Linked DNA regions of Homo sapiens: regions 1, 3, 4 and 5 are each linked to region 2. The links are contacts of gene promoters, found by promoter capture Hi-C in blood cells and fetal thymus (Javierre and others, 2016). All regions are on one chromosome and are shown on one strand. Each heading gives the region's core, a stretch centred on a gene start or on the middle of the fragment in contact. The rest is flanking DNA. Distances are from core to core; before and after follow the strand shown. Region 1 overlaps FGF14 (fibroblast growth factor 14). Region 2 holds the start of ITGBL1 (integrin subunit beta like 1). Region 3 overlaps FGF14 (fibroblast growth factor 14). Region 4 overlaps NALCN (sodium leak channel, non-selective). Region 5 overlaps FGF14 (fibroblast growth factor 14).

What was found. Contacts are between HindIII fragments. The CHiCAGO score rates a contact against its expected background, and 5 or more counts as called.
Region 1: a contact is called between a fragment that was not itself captured here and the fragment with the promoter of ITGBL1 in region 2, in 1 of 17 cell types (erythroblasts). The highest score is 6.5, in erythroblasts.
Region 3: a fragment that was not itself captured here is called in contact with the fragment with the promoter of ITGBL1 in region 2 in 1 of 17 cell types (erythroblasts); the score reaches 5.1 in erythroblasts.
Region 4: a fragment that was not itself captured here is called in contact with the fragment with the promoter of ITGBL1 in region 2 in 1 of 17 cell types (endothelial precursors); the score reaches 5.6 in endothelial precursors.
Region 5: a fragment that was not itself captured here is called in contact with the fragment with the promoter of ITGBL1 in region 2 in 1 of 17 cell types (erythroblasts); the score reaches 5.2 in erythroblasts.

Annotation. Positions count from the first base shown.
Region 1 is chr13:101,819,349-101,822,048 of GRCh38, reverse strand. All of the region lies in intron 3 of FGF14 (fibroblast growth factor 14), which reads left to right. Among named protein-coding and RNA genes, the nearest start is that of FGF14, 96 kb to the left of the region's middle. The HindIII fragment of the contact is 172 bases long and covers 1,312-1,483 here.
Region 2 is chr13:101,451,393-101,454,092 of GRCh38, reverse strand. ITGBL1 (integrin subunit beta like 1) reads right to left here and starts at 1,418. Exons shown (of 11, transcript NM_004791.3): 1 at 1,162-1,418; 2 at 1-210. The coding sequence starts at 1,259. RefSeq lists an enhancer at 1,336-1,840. The HindIII fragment of the contact is 2,431 bases long and covers 1,182-2,700 here.
Region 3 is chr13:101,892,084-101,894,783 of GRCh38, reverse strand. All of the region lies in intron 1 of FGF14 (fibroblast growth factor 14), which reads left to right. Among named protein-coding and RNA genes, the nearest start is that of FGF14, 24 kb to the left of the region's middle. The HindIII fragment of the contact is 1,767 bases long and covers 500-2,266 here.
Region 4 is chr13:101,158,790-101,161,489 of GRCh38, reverse strand. The region is part of intron 15 of NALCN (sodium leak channel, non-selective); the gene reads left to right. Among named protein-coding and RNA genes, the nearest start is that of LINC00411, 220 kb to the right of the region's middle. The HindIII fragment of the contact is 2,828 bases long and covers 1-2,700 here.
Region 5 is chr13:101,782,970-101,785,669 of GRCh38, reverse strand. All of the region lies in intron 3 of FGF14 (fibroblast growth factor 14), which reads left to right. Among named protein-coding and RNA genes, the nearest start is that of FGF14, 130 kb to the left of the region's middle. The HindIII fragment of the contact is 5,002 bases long and covers 1-2,700 here.

The DNA of each region.
Region 1 (2,700 bases), core at 148-2,647, 370 kb before region 2:
GCACTATTCACTTAAAAAAATAAGTGATCAACTGAACTTTCTTAAAATTCAGAACTGTTCCTTACAAGACAGCATTATGAGAGTGAAAAGATGATATCTGCAGTTCTTATATCTGACAAAGAACTCATGCCCAGAATATTTAAAGTATTCTTATGAAACAAGAAACAAGACTGACAAATTACTTAAAAATGGGCAAATAAATTGAAACAGCACTTCACAAAAGAAGATACACAGATAGCCAAGAAATTTATGAAAAGGTGCTCAGCATCATTACTCATTAAAATACCACAAACTGATACCATTAGACTCCCACCAGAATTGCTAAAATTAACATGGCTGAGAATACTGAATGCTGGTAGTGTTGTAGAACAGAAAGAACTCTCATATACGGCTATTGGCATGTCAGTTGCTATAACCATTTGGGAAAACATTTTGGCAAAATCTACTAACGTTAAACATATTTACACATTCAAACATAGCATGTCCACTCCTGGGTATATAGTCAAGAGAGACAAATGTTTCTACTAAAAGTTCATGTACAAATAATCTTAATAACAGCATTATGAATAATGGCCCCCAAACCGGAACAAATGAAATTTCCATCAGTAGTAGAATGGATAAATAAATTACAACATATTCATAACACAGAATACTACACAGCAGTGAAAGTAACACACTATTGATACACACAAGAACTCAGATGGATCTCACAGACATAAAAAGGAGAAAAAGAAACCAGACACAAAAGAATAAATGCTGCACGATCAATATGTGTGAAATTTTTAAAAAGAGCAAAATTTGGGCCGGGCGCAGTGGCTCACGCCTGTAATCCCAGCACTTTGGGAGGCCGAGGCGGGTGGATCACGAGGTCAGGAGATCGAGAACATCCTGGCTGACACGGTGAAACCCTGTCTCTACTAAAAATACAAAAAATTAGCCCGGCGTGGTAGCGGGCGCCTGTACTCCCAGCTACTTGGGAGGCTGAGGCAGGAGAATGGCGTGAATCCCGGGGGGCGGAGCCTGCAGTGAGCCGAGATCATGCCACTGCACTCCAGCCTGGGCGACAGCGAGACTCTGTCTCAAAAAAAAAAAAAGCAAAATCTAATCTTCTATGATAGAAGTCAGAATAGTAGTTACCTCTCGGGGGAGACTGGACTAAAAAGAAGCACAAGTGTATCTCCAGTGCTAAAAATGTTCTATTTATTGATCTGGTATCTGTGTGTGTGGTGTGTGTGTGTGTGTTGTGTGTGTGTGTGTGTGTGTGTGTGTGGTGTGTGGTGTGTGTGTGTACTGTAGCTGTAGCTATAAGCTTAATACTTGGGCAGTTTAATATGTGTAAGTTATACTTCACTAAAGCAGAAAAAAGGGGGTATAATCATAGCCTAAGAAAGCACTTTCAAAGTAGCTTTTCACAATTCCCCTTGCATAGCCATAGATACTATCTACATAAATGAATATATATGTAATTGTATTTTGATAAGCTTTTATATGAGAAACATGATATTGCTTTAATTCAAATTAACTTTCCTTCTTAAATGTTAATTATGACTTTGCTGCACACGTTCAACCCAGAAACACAACCTGAATGTAAAGGCTAGTCTTCATCTTGGATATGTTCATTTTAGTCTGATTTCACAATTTTAATTTTGTTATCAGCCAACGTTTATTTTATTTTAATCTGTTTTCCATGATTCTTAATTGCAAAATTATTAAAATTATATAGGACTAATCTGTTCACTATTGGTGATATGCATAAAGAAATCTTGCTTTAAGTAGCATATCTGCTGAAAAACTGTTTTTTTTTCTTTATACAATCTCATTACAGAACACAGCATCATTTATTGCCATAATATGTTTTGTCAAACATCAGAAACATTTGGTTCATTGATATATTGCTGCCACTGTTTCTCTGACATTTTATATCCTTTGGGGCCAATGAGCAAGTCCCATAGGCTTGTCCCTTGATAACTTTATATCGGTGTAATTAATTCTCATCTTAAATCTTTTTACCTGCTGTCAGCCAAGAAATAGCTAGGAAAGCTGATTTTCCAAAAGCTTGTGGATCTTAGATGAGAAAAATGATGAGTATAATGTTGAGGCTCATGTACCATCCTTTTTTCTAATTACACAGCCTGTTCTCTGAAATATCTTTCCGTCGCATCCATCAGGGATGCCCTCAACATCAGAGGGAGAAGTGCATGGCTGTGCAAAAGTGAGGATTTAAAGTCCCAAGACAGAAGACACCAGGACATGTTTTCTCTCTTATCATAAGACATGTATTTGATTTATCATGTATCTTCAAAACTATTCTAAAAATCCATATTATAATAACTTTGGGAATGAATGAGTATCATTGCTAGAAAATAGGAGATACCTTCTTGTCTGATGCTGGAAATAAAACTAAGCTGACGATTGCTGATGCAGTTATTTTGAAGTAACTTGAAAGATTCAATTTCACATCCTCAAATTTTAAGTACAAAATTACGCCATATAATTCATTTTTATTTACTTGTAATTTAAGTTTACTTTTACATCACTGATAGGTAGAATATAATGGAAGATAGCTATCCCCTTACTAAAGTGCCCATTTCTCTCCTATTCACATTGAGTCTGTGAACCCAATTTTGGGGCAAGATTCCCCACTGCTAACCGGGTTATCACAGGATCTCTGGATTAATTCATGCCACATTCTGGGACTTT
Region 2 (2,700 bases), core at 169-2,668:
GTGCTCCCGTCGTAGGTCTCGCACACCCACTCATGGCACTCACACAGGGGCCCGAAGAACATGCCCGGCTCAGTCACGTGGCAGATGCAGACGCCGCAGTCGCAGCGGCCCCGGCCGTGGCACAGCGCGGCCCCCGGGGGCTGCCCAGGTGCGCGGCAGCGTCGCTCCGACTCGGCCCGGGACAGCCTGCAGGCGGCGCCCGGCCAGCTCCTGCGCGGGCGACAAGCAACCGGCAGGCCGGGTCAGACGCGGACGCCGCCCCCTGCTCCGAACCCACGTTTCCTCCCCAGTGTCCCCTCCAGGTGCAGACGTACAACCCCAAGAACAGGACGCCTGAGGCCCACATCTCTCTGGGGTCCAAGCGCTGCCTGGAAGGGCTGTATTTTCCCAAGCAAACAGGTATCACCCACCAGAGAAATGACCAGGGCCCAAAATGTGTAATGGGTGACCTGCCCCCGGACACAGGTCCTTCCTCCAGGTGGACAGAGGTGAACTGCCCTGCTCTTTGGTAGTTTATCACTAAATCTTATATGCACATTTAGATTAAATACAAAGTAATCCAAGGTACGGCACTCAGCTGACTTTTCAGTTCTCCTTTAAAAAACGTCCCACTGCTATCTGATGGCCAATGGGCACTTATATTACAGAAGAGAAAACGTGAATCTATAGAAAGAGTTAGACATGCTATGATAGCATCGGGCATAATTTGCATTAAGCAGTCTTTAGGAACTCTACTTTTAAAAAGTTTAGTTTCACTATTGCAGTGTGCCTCACTCAGTCTCTTTCAGGATGATACAAAATGTAACACAGACCTCCTGTTGCTGCCCTTGGGAAACAGATCATTCTGCTTTACATGTTGTGAGAAGATACTGGTACACATAGCATTTTAACTCACAGCAGGAATTCCTCCTGATATGTATTTGCAGAAAAGAAAATTATATTTTTATTCAATGATTGCATTTTTCCAAAGGAAAAGCAAAAGGACAGACATGAGGCAATACACGCTGTAGATATAAGGAGAGGAAAAGGAACAGGTTGAAAACAGTTTATCCCTTGTCCAATTTAATAACAGCTCTTGGCTTAGGGCAGCCATCCTGCAAGCTTGAGCCCTGCCACATAAGCAGGGCAGGTCTGTACTGAAGAATAACAAACCAAACTTACCTCAGAGATGGCGAGAAGCTTTGAGGAACAGCTGACAACCCAGCAAAGAGAAGGGAGGACGCCAGCAGCAAGAAGTTCCTGAAGCCTGGGGGACGCATGCTGAGCTCCTGGGCTGCTCCGGGCGAGCTGCACTTCTGCAAGGTGGGGTTCACCGAGGGAGGCGGCAGGAGGGAGAGGTGCCACCAGCAGATGGCTGGGCAGACGGACCCACGGACACCCAGGCTTGCAGGTCCGGGGCTCCAGCCGGAGTTGCAATTGCGTTGATGAGCTGCCTGCGAGGATTTGGGCAGCGGCACTGCTCTGGGCGGGGTGCTGGTGCCAAACCCCTCAGTGGAGAGTCTAGGCAGGGAAGTAATTAGAAACAGTTGTACAAGCAGATGGTTTATTTTGACATTAAAAAAAAAAAAAGTGTCCTGTTCACAGATTTCAAGTACGGGCCACAGAAATATTTGACAAGAGAATATTTGGACTGGCCGATATTAAAGAAACCTTTAAAATAATCCCTGAGTTGTGGAGAAGGGTGAGGCCAGTGACAGTAGTGGGAACACTTGGGTAGGGAATTACTTTCACCACACGCTTTTAAAGTAGATGCACTCTTTGGAGTTTGGGTTGGGGCCGGGGCAAGGAAATCTGACAAACACAACTTTTTCTTGCATTTATTATCCTTTGATTTAAACTGGATATTTCATTTCTTTAGTCTTTAAAAAGCGTGTCATGCTTCCAGCTGTTTAGGCCAGTAGCTTATCACACCACAATTTGTTGGTGACTTGGACAGTTTAAATTGTAGTTGTCTCAAATTCACCCCATTCTCCCCATATATCAAATGTGAGAAAAGAAAATTAAATGTTTATTTATAGCACAAATTGCACTGAAAAACAATTGGTGTCATTTACTAAGCACCTACTATGTGCCAGTCATTTAGTATGTTTTCTCTAATTATGACAATAATCACACATTTATTTATGCATTAGCAAATGGGGATTTAGCATCTATCAGGTGCCAGGTTTTGTGCAAGACAGAATGAATATAACAGAGAACTAAGGAGACATGATCCCTGCTCTCTCAGAGTCCAATGAGCTAGAAAGACATTAATCAACACAAAACCACAAAAAAAAAGAACAAAGGGTTGCAAGTGCAGTGAGAAGTTACTTCCAGATGAGATACAGGCACTTGATCTAATCAAAGATGGTAGCATCTGAACAAAAAACTGAAAAAAGTATTGAATTAAATTGGGTAGAAATAAGAAGGAGATGGAAGAGAACAGGGAGACATTCTTACTCCCATTTTAAAGATAAAGAAACTGAGGGCAAAGAGGTCAACTGACTTGCTCAAATTCACAGAGGAAGTTAGTCGTATTTCAGCTGAAATCCAAAGTGCATACACTATCCCCTACATTTATGGTCATCTGGGAAAATGTGTAGAGGGTTATATGGAAGGGGGAAAACATTTTTCATTCACCCTAAGAAGAGCACTGTACATGCAATCCTTCCTCATGAAATAGAACCATCCAAGAATCATCTGTGGTCCCAGATCCTTAAA
Region 3 (2,700 bases), core at 134-2,633, 440 kb before region 2:
TAAGTAGATTTCTCCTCACCTTCCCTCCTTTTTTTCTTTAATCTTACAGTAAAGGAAAATCTTATTATATGTCCCAAACCATGATAGGAAGCTAGAGAAGCTCAGTTTCACATCTAATGCTCACTCTACATTAGTTACCAATGAAATCTGTCAGTGGGTATATGTTAAGCAATATAACATGCTATAAAGAGCCTCTTGGCAGAAATAGTAGGTTAAAATGGGAGCGGAAATTTCTTTGTCAACTTCGCAGCTGTAGCGCTGGGTGTGGGGCAGGACTTTGTGTTTCTGAGACTGCTTCTTTGTACTTAGGACAAGGATAAGTCTCAGTCAGTTGCCCTGACTGGGGGAGTTCATTGGACTAATAGATAATTCCTGAGATGCTATCTACTGCTAATATTTTATGTCTATGGCCTATACAGGTGGTGTTTCTTCAATTAGAAGCACCAGCAAGCTAAATAAAGTATCATGACAATAATCACACAAAGGTGAATTTAAAGCTTTACCTTTTCTCTCACCTAACCATTTTCATTTTTCTATCTTCTCTTCCATATTTGTATATTTGTAAGTTATTTTAATCATAATGTAGATACAATCCAATCTTAGCAGGAGTTGTTAAATCTCAAATGAGTTAAGGTATATGAAATCACCTTTAAAACTCTAAAGGGCTATTCCAAATGCAAAAGAAGCCTGATATTATTGTCACTCTTTCTTAAATATCTTTCCATATCTCTGCAAGATAAAAAGTGTGAAAAAAAAAAAAGCCAGGAAAGGTTGGGTTGAGCTGTTGTGTTTAGTGAAAGCACTTTCACTAACACAGAGGACCTGCCTTATGATGCCTCTGGGAGTCAAAGAAAACACAGACCCTCCCCATGAGATGCTAAGAATCTTGTCAGGTGTATTGGTTTCTCACTGCTGTAACAATAAGTCATTACAAACTTAATGGCTTGAAAGAACATAAACTGATTATCTTATAGTTCTGTGGGCTAAAATTCTGACGTGGATCTCGCCAGGCTAAAATTGACTTGTCAGTAGGGCTCTGATCCTTTTTGGAAGCTGTAGAAAAGAATCCATTTCTTTGCCTTCTTCCATTTCTAGAGGCCATCTACATTCCTTATCACGTGGCACTTTCCTTGAACTTCAAGGTCAACAATGTTGCATTTTTCTGATAATTACTTAATAGTCACCTCTGCCTTCCACTCTCCTTTTAAGGACCCTGTTATTACACTGGACACACCCAAATAATCCAGGATAATCTCACCATGCCACAGTCCCTAACTTAATCTTGTATGCAAAGGCCCTTTTGCCATGTCATGTAACACAGTCACACACTTCAGGTATAAGAATGTAGGTGCTTTCAGGGAGCCATTGTTCTCTCCACCACAGCAAAGCAATCACATGGACACATAATCACAATACATCATGGTTAATGCCATAGCAGCACTTGGCTGCAGAATATTGTGATGGTACAACCCAGGCTGACTTCATGCAGCTCAAGGTGCAGGAGCAGGAAAAACCTGCCAGAGGCAATCATGGACAGAGAGGTGATGACAGGGTGAATAGGAACTAGCCATTTGAAAAGATGCAGAGACTGGCTTTCAATAGCAGGCAGCCCACGCAGAGAACAAGCCTCTATTAAAATCCTACCATCCTGCCTCCCACATTACTCTCACAATTAAGTCCTTGTCACTGTCCAGCCTCTGAGAAAGGATCTGGCATCTACTGCAGGGTCATGGGTATGGCATCTTAACTGCATGCATCATACCCAACATCCAGTGACCAGAGTGATAGTTCACCTGTCTACGTATGATCTTGCCACTGCCTGCTTTAATCTACTGACCTCAAATATTCTTAGGATGCAATTCATTTTTTGTATAATTAACAGACCTCCCAAGATTTGGACACTTGGCCATCTTTTCCATCCTCATTCCGTGGTGATGCTACTTTCTTATCTAAAATAACATTTGAGATTCATACAGCATCCTGTGCTGTTATTTGGCCAGATATGGTTATGTCCACCTTTCAGAGAAATTCAAGAGGCTATGACTTACATTAAACCACATAGCTAATTGGCAACTGAACCCCACTGTTTTCCCAGCACACTATGGGGAGACCAGCCTACTGTCAAATGTTAGATTTTGTTCCTGGAGATTTTAGGATGAATATGGGACAAACTACCTCCTTGTTCTCTGCAAATTCATTTTCCCTTTAGCCATATAACACTGGGTTTGGGGTATTTTGGGGACGTGGTAGTGAGTCATAACAAGCTTAATTCCTTTTACTTCACATGTTCAATGGCCCATGTAATTACAAGGCCCAGGGATTTCCTCTCTGCTGTTAAAAGAATTATCAAGTTAAGAATGTTTTGATCTTAATTAGCTTTTACTAGGCCTTTCTGATGCCCAAATAATATATGTGGCTAAATGGTAAACAATAAGGATGAGGCCTATTTTTTTGTTTGTTTCTAAAACACTTTTCAAAGAATGTACAGTGGGAACCTACATGGAAATCTTCATAACAAAAATTTTTTAGGTAATATAAGGCACTTTTCCTTAGGGGAAAATTAAGAGTTTAGATAAGGGACACATTTTTAAATAATCAAAAAAAATTGAAAAGATGCTTCTTTTGCATCTTTGGATTGTGTTGTGTTCAATTCCCTATTATTTTATTTTCCTTGCTATGCAAACTCTAGACATCTTGAAA
Region 4 (2,700 bases), core at 112-2,611, 290 kb after region 2:
GAGGGACTTGGTGATAGGTTGGATTTAAAGACATGAGTGAGAGAGTCTCAAAGATGATTCCTGGTTTCAGGTTTCTACAGTTGCATGAATGAAATGTCATTAACTGAGTTAAGAAACACTAGCATACAACCGTATTTGGGGGAAACGTTCATCAACTCAGCCTTGGGCATGTTGAGTTGGTGAATCTTTCAAGATGTCTGAACAGAGATGCCTAATAGTTGTGTATAGGTCTGGAGTTCAGGGGAGAAGGATGGCTGCCTAGAGATATAAATGTGGACATTCAATGTAATTCTCAATTATTTATTCAGGTGCTGTTCTAGACATGTGGCGTAGGTCAATGAACAGAACAGACAAAAATGACTGCCTCCTTTGAGCTTCAGTCCTAGTAAAGTTCTCCATGTTTTCATAATACTGGAAGGTGTAAATCTGGATGAGATTGTATAGGGTGGGAAGAAAAAATATGCTGGAGCCTTGAGGAAGAGCAACATTTAATAACTGCTGGTGTTTGCCTTTATGGTAACTCAACCTGTCTCTGTTTTCCTCCTTGTGTATTTTCACTTTCAGTTCCATTGCAAATAGTCAACATTTTCTGTATCTCAGGTTCAAAACTTGATCAATAAGAACAGATTTGGTCGATCCAGCTAATCAATATGATTCCTTTTAGGCAGGAATTTCATCTCTGATTGCCTCGCAATGCTGGCCAGTCTTATAGAAAGTCCCTGTCTTTGGCCCGGTTTCTGGCTCAACCAGCTTTGACAAGGGTGATGAGTTACTTTGTACCATAAGGCAATTTATAAGGAAGAAACACCTTCATAAAAAAAAACAAAAACAAAACAAAACAAAAAACAGAACAGGCAGACATTTGGAGAACTCACCTGCATATTACAGAGAGATTTAATATGTTTATCTATTGCATGCCACTGTAATTTAACAGTCTAGGCAAAGGTAACAGAAAAGAGGAGCTGAGATAATCCAGCTCCTCCCCAACCACTCATTCAGGAGGAAGCAGATGTGAGTGCCATTGTAGGGTCCTGAGGGAGTATTGGTTCCCATTTCCTAGCCTGCCCCTCCTCCCCACGCTTGGTCAGTTACACCTTCATATGGCTCCTGTTCTCACTTTACCTCTCTGCTTTATGATAAGCGCAGATAAAAGGCAAGAGACACAGACAAAGCGAAAAAGAAGGAAGAGGGAAGGAAATTTAGAAGGGACCTTGCAAACATTTTCCTTCCACTGAGTGGTCCACAGGAGGAAACAATGAAAACTTCTCTCTCCTTTGGGAGGCCAAGGCGGGCAGATCACAAGGTCAGGAGATCGAGACCATCCTGGCTAACATGGTGAAACCCTGTCTCTACTAAAAATACAAAAAATTAGTCAGGCATGGTGGTGTGTACCTGTAGTCCCAGCTACTCAGGAGGCTGAGGCAGTAGAATCGCTTGAACCCAGGAGGCAGAGGTTGCAGTGAGCCGAGATCGCACCGCTGCACTTCAGCCTGGGCGACAGAATGAGACTCCGTCTCAAAATAAAATAAAATAAAAATAACAAAAAATAACAAAAAACAAAAAAAACCTTCTCTCTCACTAACAAAGAGATGTGATTTTGGAGAAATGTCTTCCCTCTCTTTCAGTTTTACCAAATCTAACTTGGGTATCTTTAGATCCGGTGTGCCCTCTTTTCTTTGATGACACGAGTCCTAACTCCTATATATTGTCTTATATGATTGTTTTATGTCATCCAAGCTGGCACTTATATCATCTCCCTGGTCTCATAGGCATTTAAATCTGGGCCCCTGCACTAGACCCTGACAAGATCTCTTCTAGATCTAAAATTCTCATCCGGGAAAGAGTCGAGAGCTGTCATTACTGGGACACCTGTAGCTGTATACTTCATTATGACAGATCTGTTGTTTATGTCCAGTGTCTCTTCTGATTTTGGGGTGTTCATGCTGCATGGTTTTCTAATATACGTAGTTCTAATATGTTCTCTGTTCATTACTGCGAATTTCTGCTCCGACCCCTGGCCACCTACACAAACCGCAATCCCCAGCATAGGCAACATGTTAGTAACCACCCGGAGGGGGCGACTGCAAGCCATGATGAAGAGCTGGGTCTACCATGTACCTGACCTGTGCTGCAAGCTCTGGCACTAGAGCTGGGGTCACAGGGCCCTAGATAAGTAATCTCCTCTGAGAATAGTCAGATTTTGTCAATACATACAATTTTCTCTTAGCAGAAATCTTGGTTGTATTAATAAATGCTGTCATTGACAGCATTGCTTTGTATTTGTACATGGATCAAATGAAAGAATAAAAGTCAGGAAAGTGATGATATTCATTCCTTGCCATTTACTTAATATGCCATCAAACTTTCCCACTTTCCTATTATTTTTTCACTCTGGGAGTTTAGGAAAGGGAATTATATGACTACCTGGATTCTCATATGCCTTCAACATATTTTTAACTGGATCATTTCATCTTACTCTGGATTTGTGCCTAAAATCTCAGTGCTAAGTGCTCTATCTTCTAAATTGAGATTCCACCTTCCAAAGATGACTGGTGGTCCTCTTATTCCTGATTATCTTCCCAGCTCACACTCCCCCAGATGAAATAAGGAGAGTGCTGTGGGAGGAAAGTTGTGGTAGAATCATCAGTAGCAGTGTTTACGGAGAGAGATTATTCCTCCTTTGCCAAAGCGCAAGAGAGG
Region 5 (2,700 bases), core at 150-2,649, 330 kb before region 2:
CAATATATAAGGTATCCTACTTTAAAGATAGATATTGATAATAGTTAATAGATAAATAGATAGATAGGTGATAGACAGATAATGTAGTTTAGTTTAAACTTAAAGTTTAACTTGTAGTACCCAGTTAGTAATATCAAGAATGGCTTAAAATGACACAGCTGCAAACCCTACATACATCAAGTTGCCCAGCTCTTAGATAATATTGTTTTACTTTATATTATCTACTTTAATATTGTTTTTCTTTATTTATTAATATAGAAAATAATATTGTTTTCTAATAGCTTTTGCTTTGTTTTGGTTTGGGTTTTTTTTTTTTTAATCTTTGGGAGAAGCTAGGCTTTGAAACTGTGGATATTTAAATAGAGTCTGTCATGATCAGCTGGGGTTGCTAACCCTCACCGCAAATATTCTTTACAAAGCAGAAGGGATGCTCCCTGCCTTTGAATAATTTACATATCTATATATAATTTTTAAAATATTAAAACTAAAGATATACCAATGTCACATCCATGTATGCATTATATGTACATTTGGAAGACATGTGCTTTTTTGTGGCAGATGTAATGACTGCACTTCTCATTCTACTCAAATAGAGTACCTAGGAGACAATGTGAGACCCTGAACACATTTTAGCAGATCTGGGGTTGGTTGTTTCCTCTTCATGTGGAACAGTATAAATAAAGCTAGAAGTGATCCTGAGAACTATGCATGAAATAGATGTCTGGGGCCCCTTTCATGACCTCACTAGCCTATTGTTAAAGCCACCTTAGCATCTGATACTTCCCCCTTGCCACACTTGATCCCATAGATTGCGTATGCAGTGATATGAGTGCTGCACCAAAGCAAAGATCAAGTCTAATTCATTCAACAGTGTATGTCTATTGTCTTAAACAGTTCAAGACACACAGCAGGTGTTTCATAAACACATGCTGACCCTGGAAAGCCATGAGTAAAATTGACAAGTGGGACAAGAGAAAGATTAGATAAGAATGGGAAAATAGCTGGGAAATGGGAAGATTATATTCATTATATGTTACCATTCAAACATTGAAAAGGTTAAATAATCTTCAGAATGACATCAATTAAACTTTACATAAGACTAAAGTCTAAAGGGAAGAAAGGGTAATATTAGAAAGTAAACAAGAAATTTGCTCCCTGGAGCACAAATATGTTAATGGTTTCTCCTGGAATTGAGCAATGTGGCAACCCAATCAGAAATGGCTTCATGAAGGTGGGTCATAAGTGGAGCCTTGTGGGATCTGAATAAATTGAGAGAAGAAGAAACTATATTCCCCAAAATGATCAGAATGTAGAAAATTTTCTGGCAGCAAAAATGAGTAGGGCATATTTAAAAGACTTCTCTGAACTAGAGGATATTAAAGAATAATAGAAGTTAAGATCAGAAGGTCTATTGGGACCACATTGTAGATAGCTACTTCTAAGCTATGATGTTCAAACTTTGAACTGTGAGCAGTGACTTGTTGAAAGAACTTTAAGGAATATCAATTTGGCACTAATGTACAGGATAAGTTAGAGGAATCAGGAAACAAAGAGATCAATCAAGAAGCTGCTGCAGGGCTACAGTAACCAAAACAGCATGGCTTTGGTACAAAAACAGACACACAGACCGATGGAACAAAATAGTGAACTCAGAAATAAGACTGCACACTTACAACTATCTGATCTTTGACAAACCTAACAACAACAACAAAAAAGCAATGGGGAAAGGATTCATTCCCTAGTCAGTCAATGGTGCTGGGATAACTCACTAGCCATATGCAGAAGATTAAAACTGGGCCCTTTTCTTGCACCATATACAAAAATTAACTCAAGATGGATTAAGGACTTAAATGTAAAATGCAAAACTGTGAAAACCAAAGAAGACAACCTAGGCAACACCATTTAGGGCAATGTCAACAAAGGCAAAGATTTTCATGACAAAGATGCCAAAAGCAGTTGCAACAAAAGCAAAGATTGACAAATAGGATCTAATTAAACTTAAGAGCTTCTGCACAGCAAAAGAAACTATTAACAGAGTAAACAGGCAACCTAGACAATGGGAGATAATTTTTGTAAACTATACATTCAACAGAGGTCTAATATCTAGCAGCTATAAGGAACTTAAAAAATTTACCAAAAAAAAACCTCAACGCCATTAAAAAGTGGGCAAAGGATATGGACAGATACTTTTTTTTTTTTTTGAGACAGAGTCTCGCTCTGTCACCAGGCTGGAGTGCAGTGGTGCAATCTCAGCTCACTGCAATCTCCGCCTCCTGGGTTCAAGCGATTCTCCTGCCTCAACCTCCTGAGTAGCTGGGATTATGGGCATGTGCCACCACACCCAGCTAATTTTTGTATTTTTAGTAGAAACAGGGTTTTCCCATGTTGTCCAGGATGGTCTTGATCTCCTGACCTTGTGATCCACCCGCCTCAGCCTCCCAAAGTGCTAGGATTACAGGCTTGAGCCACCGCGCCCGGCCAACACTTTTAAAAAGAAGGCATACATGCACCAACAATCATATGAAAAAAAGGCTCAACATCACTGATCATTAGAGAAATGCAAATCAAAACCACAATGAGATACCATCTAATACCAGTCAGAGTGGCTATTACTAAAAAGTAAAAAATAACAGATGCTGGCAAGGTTGTGGAGAAAAAGGAATGCTTATACACTGTTGGTGGGAGTGTAAATTAGTTCAA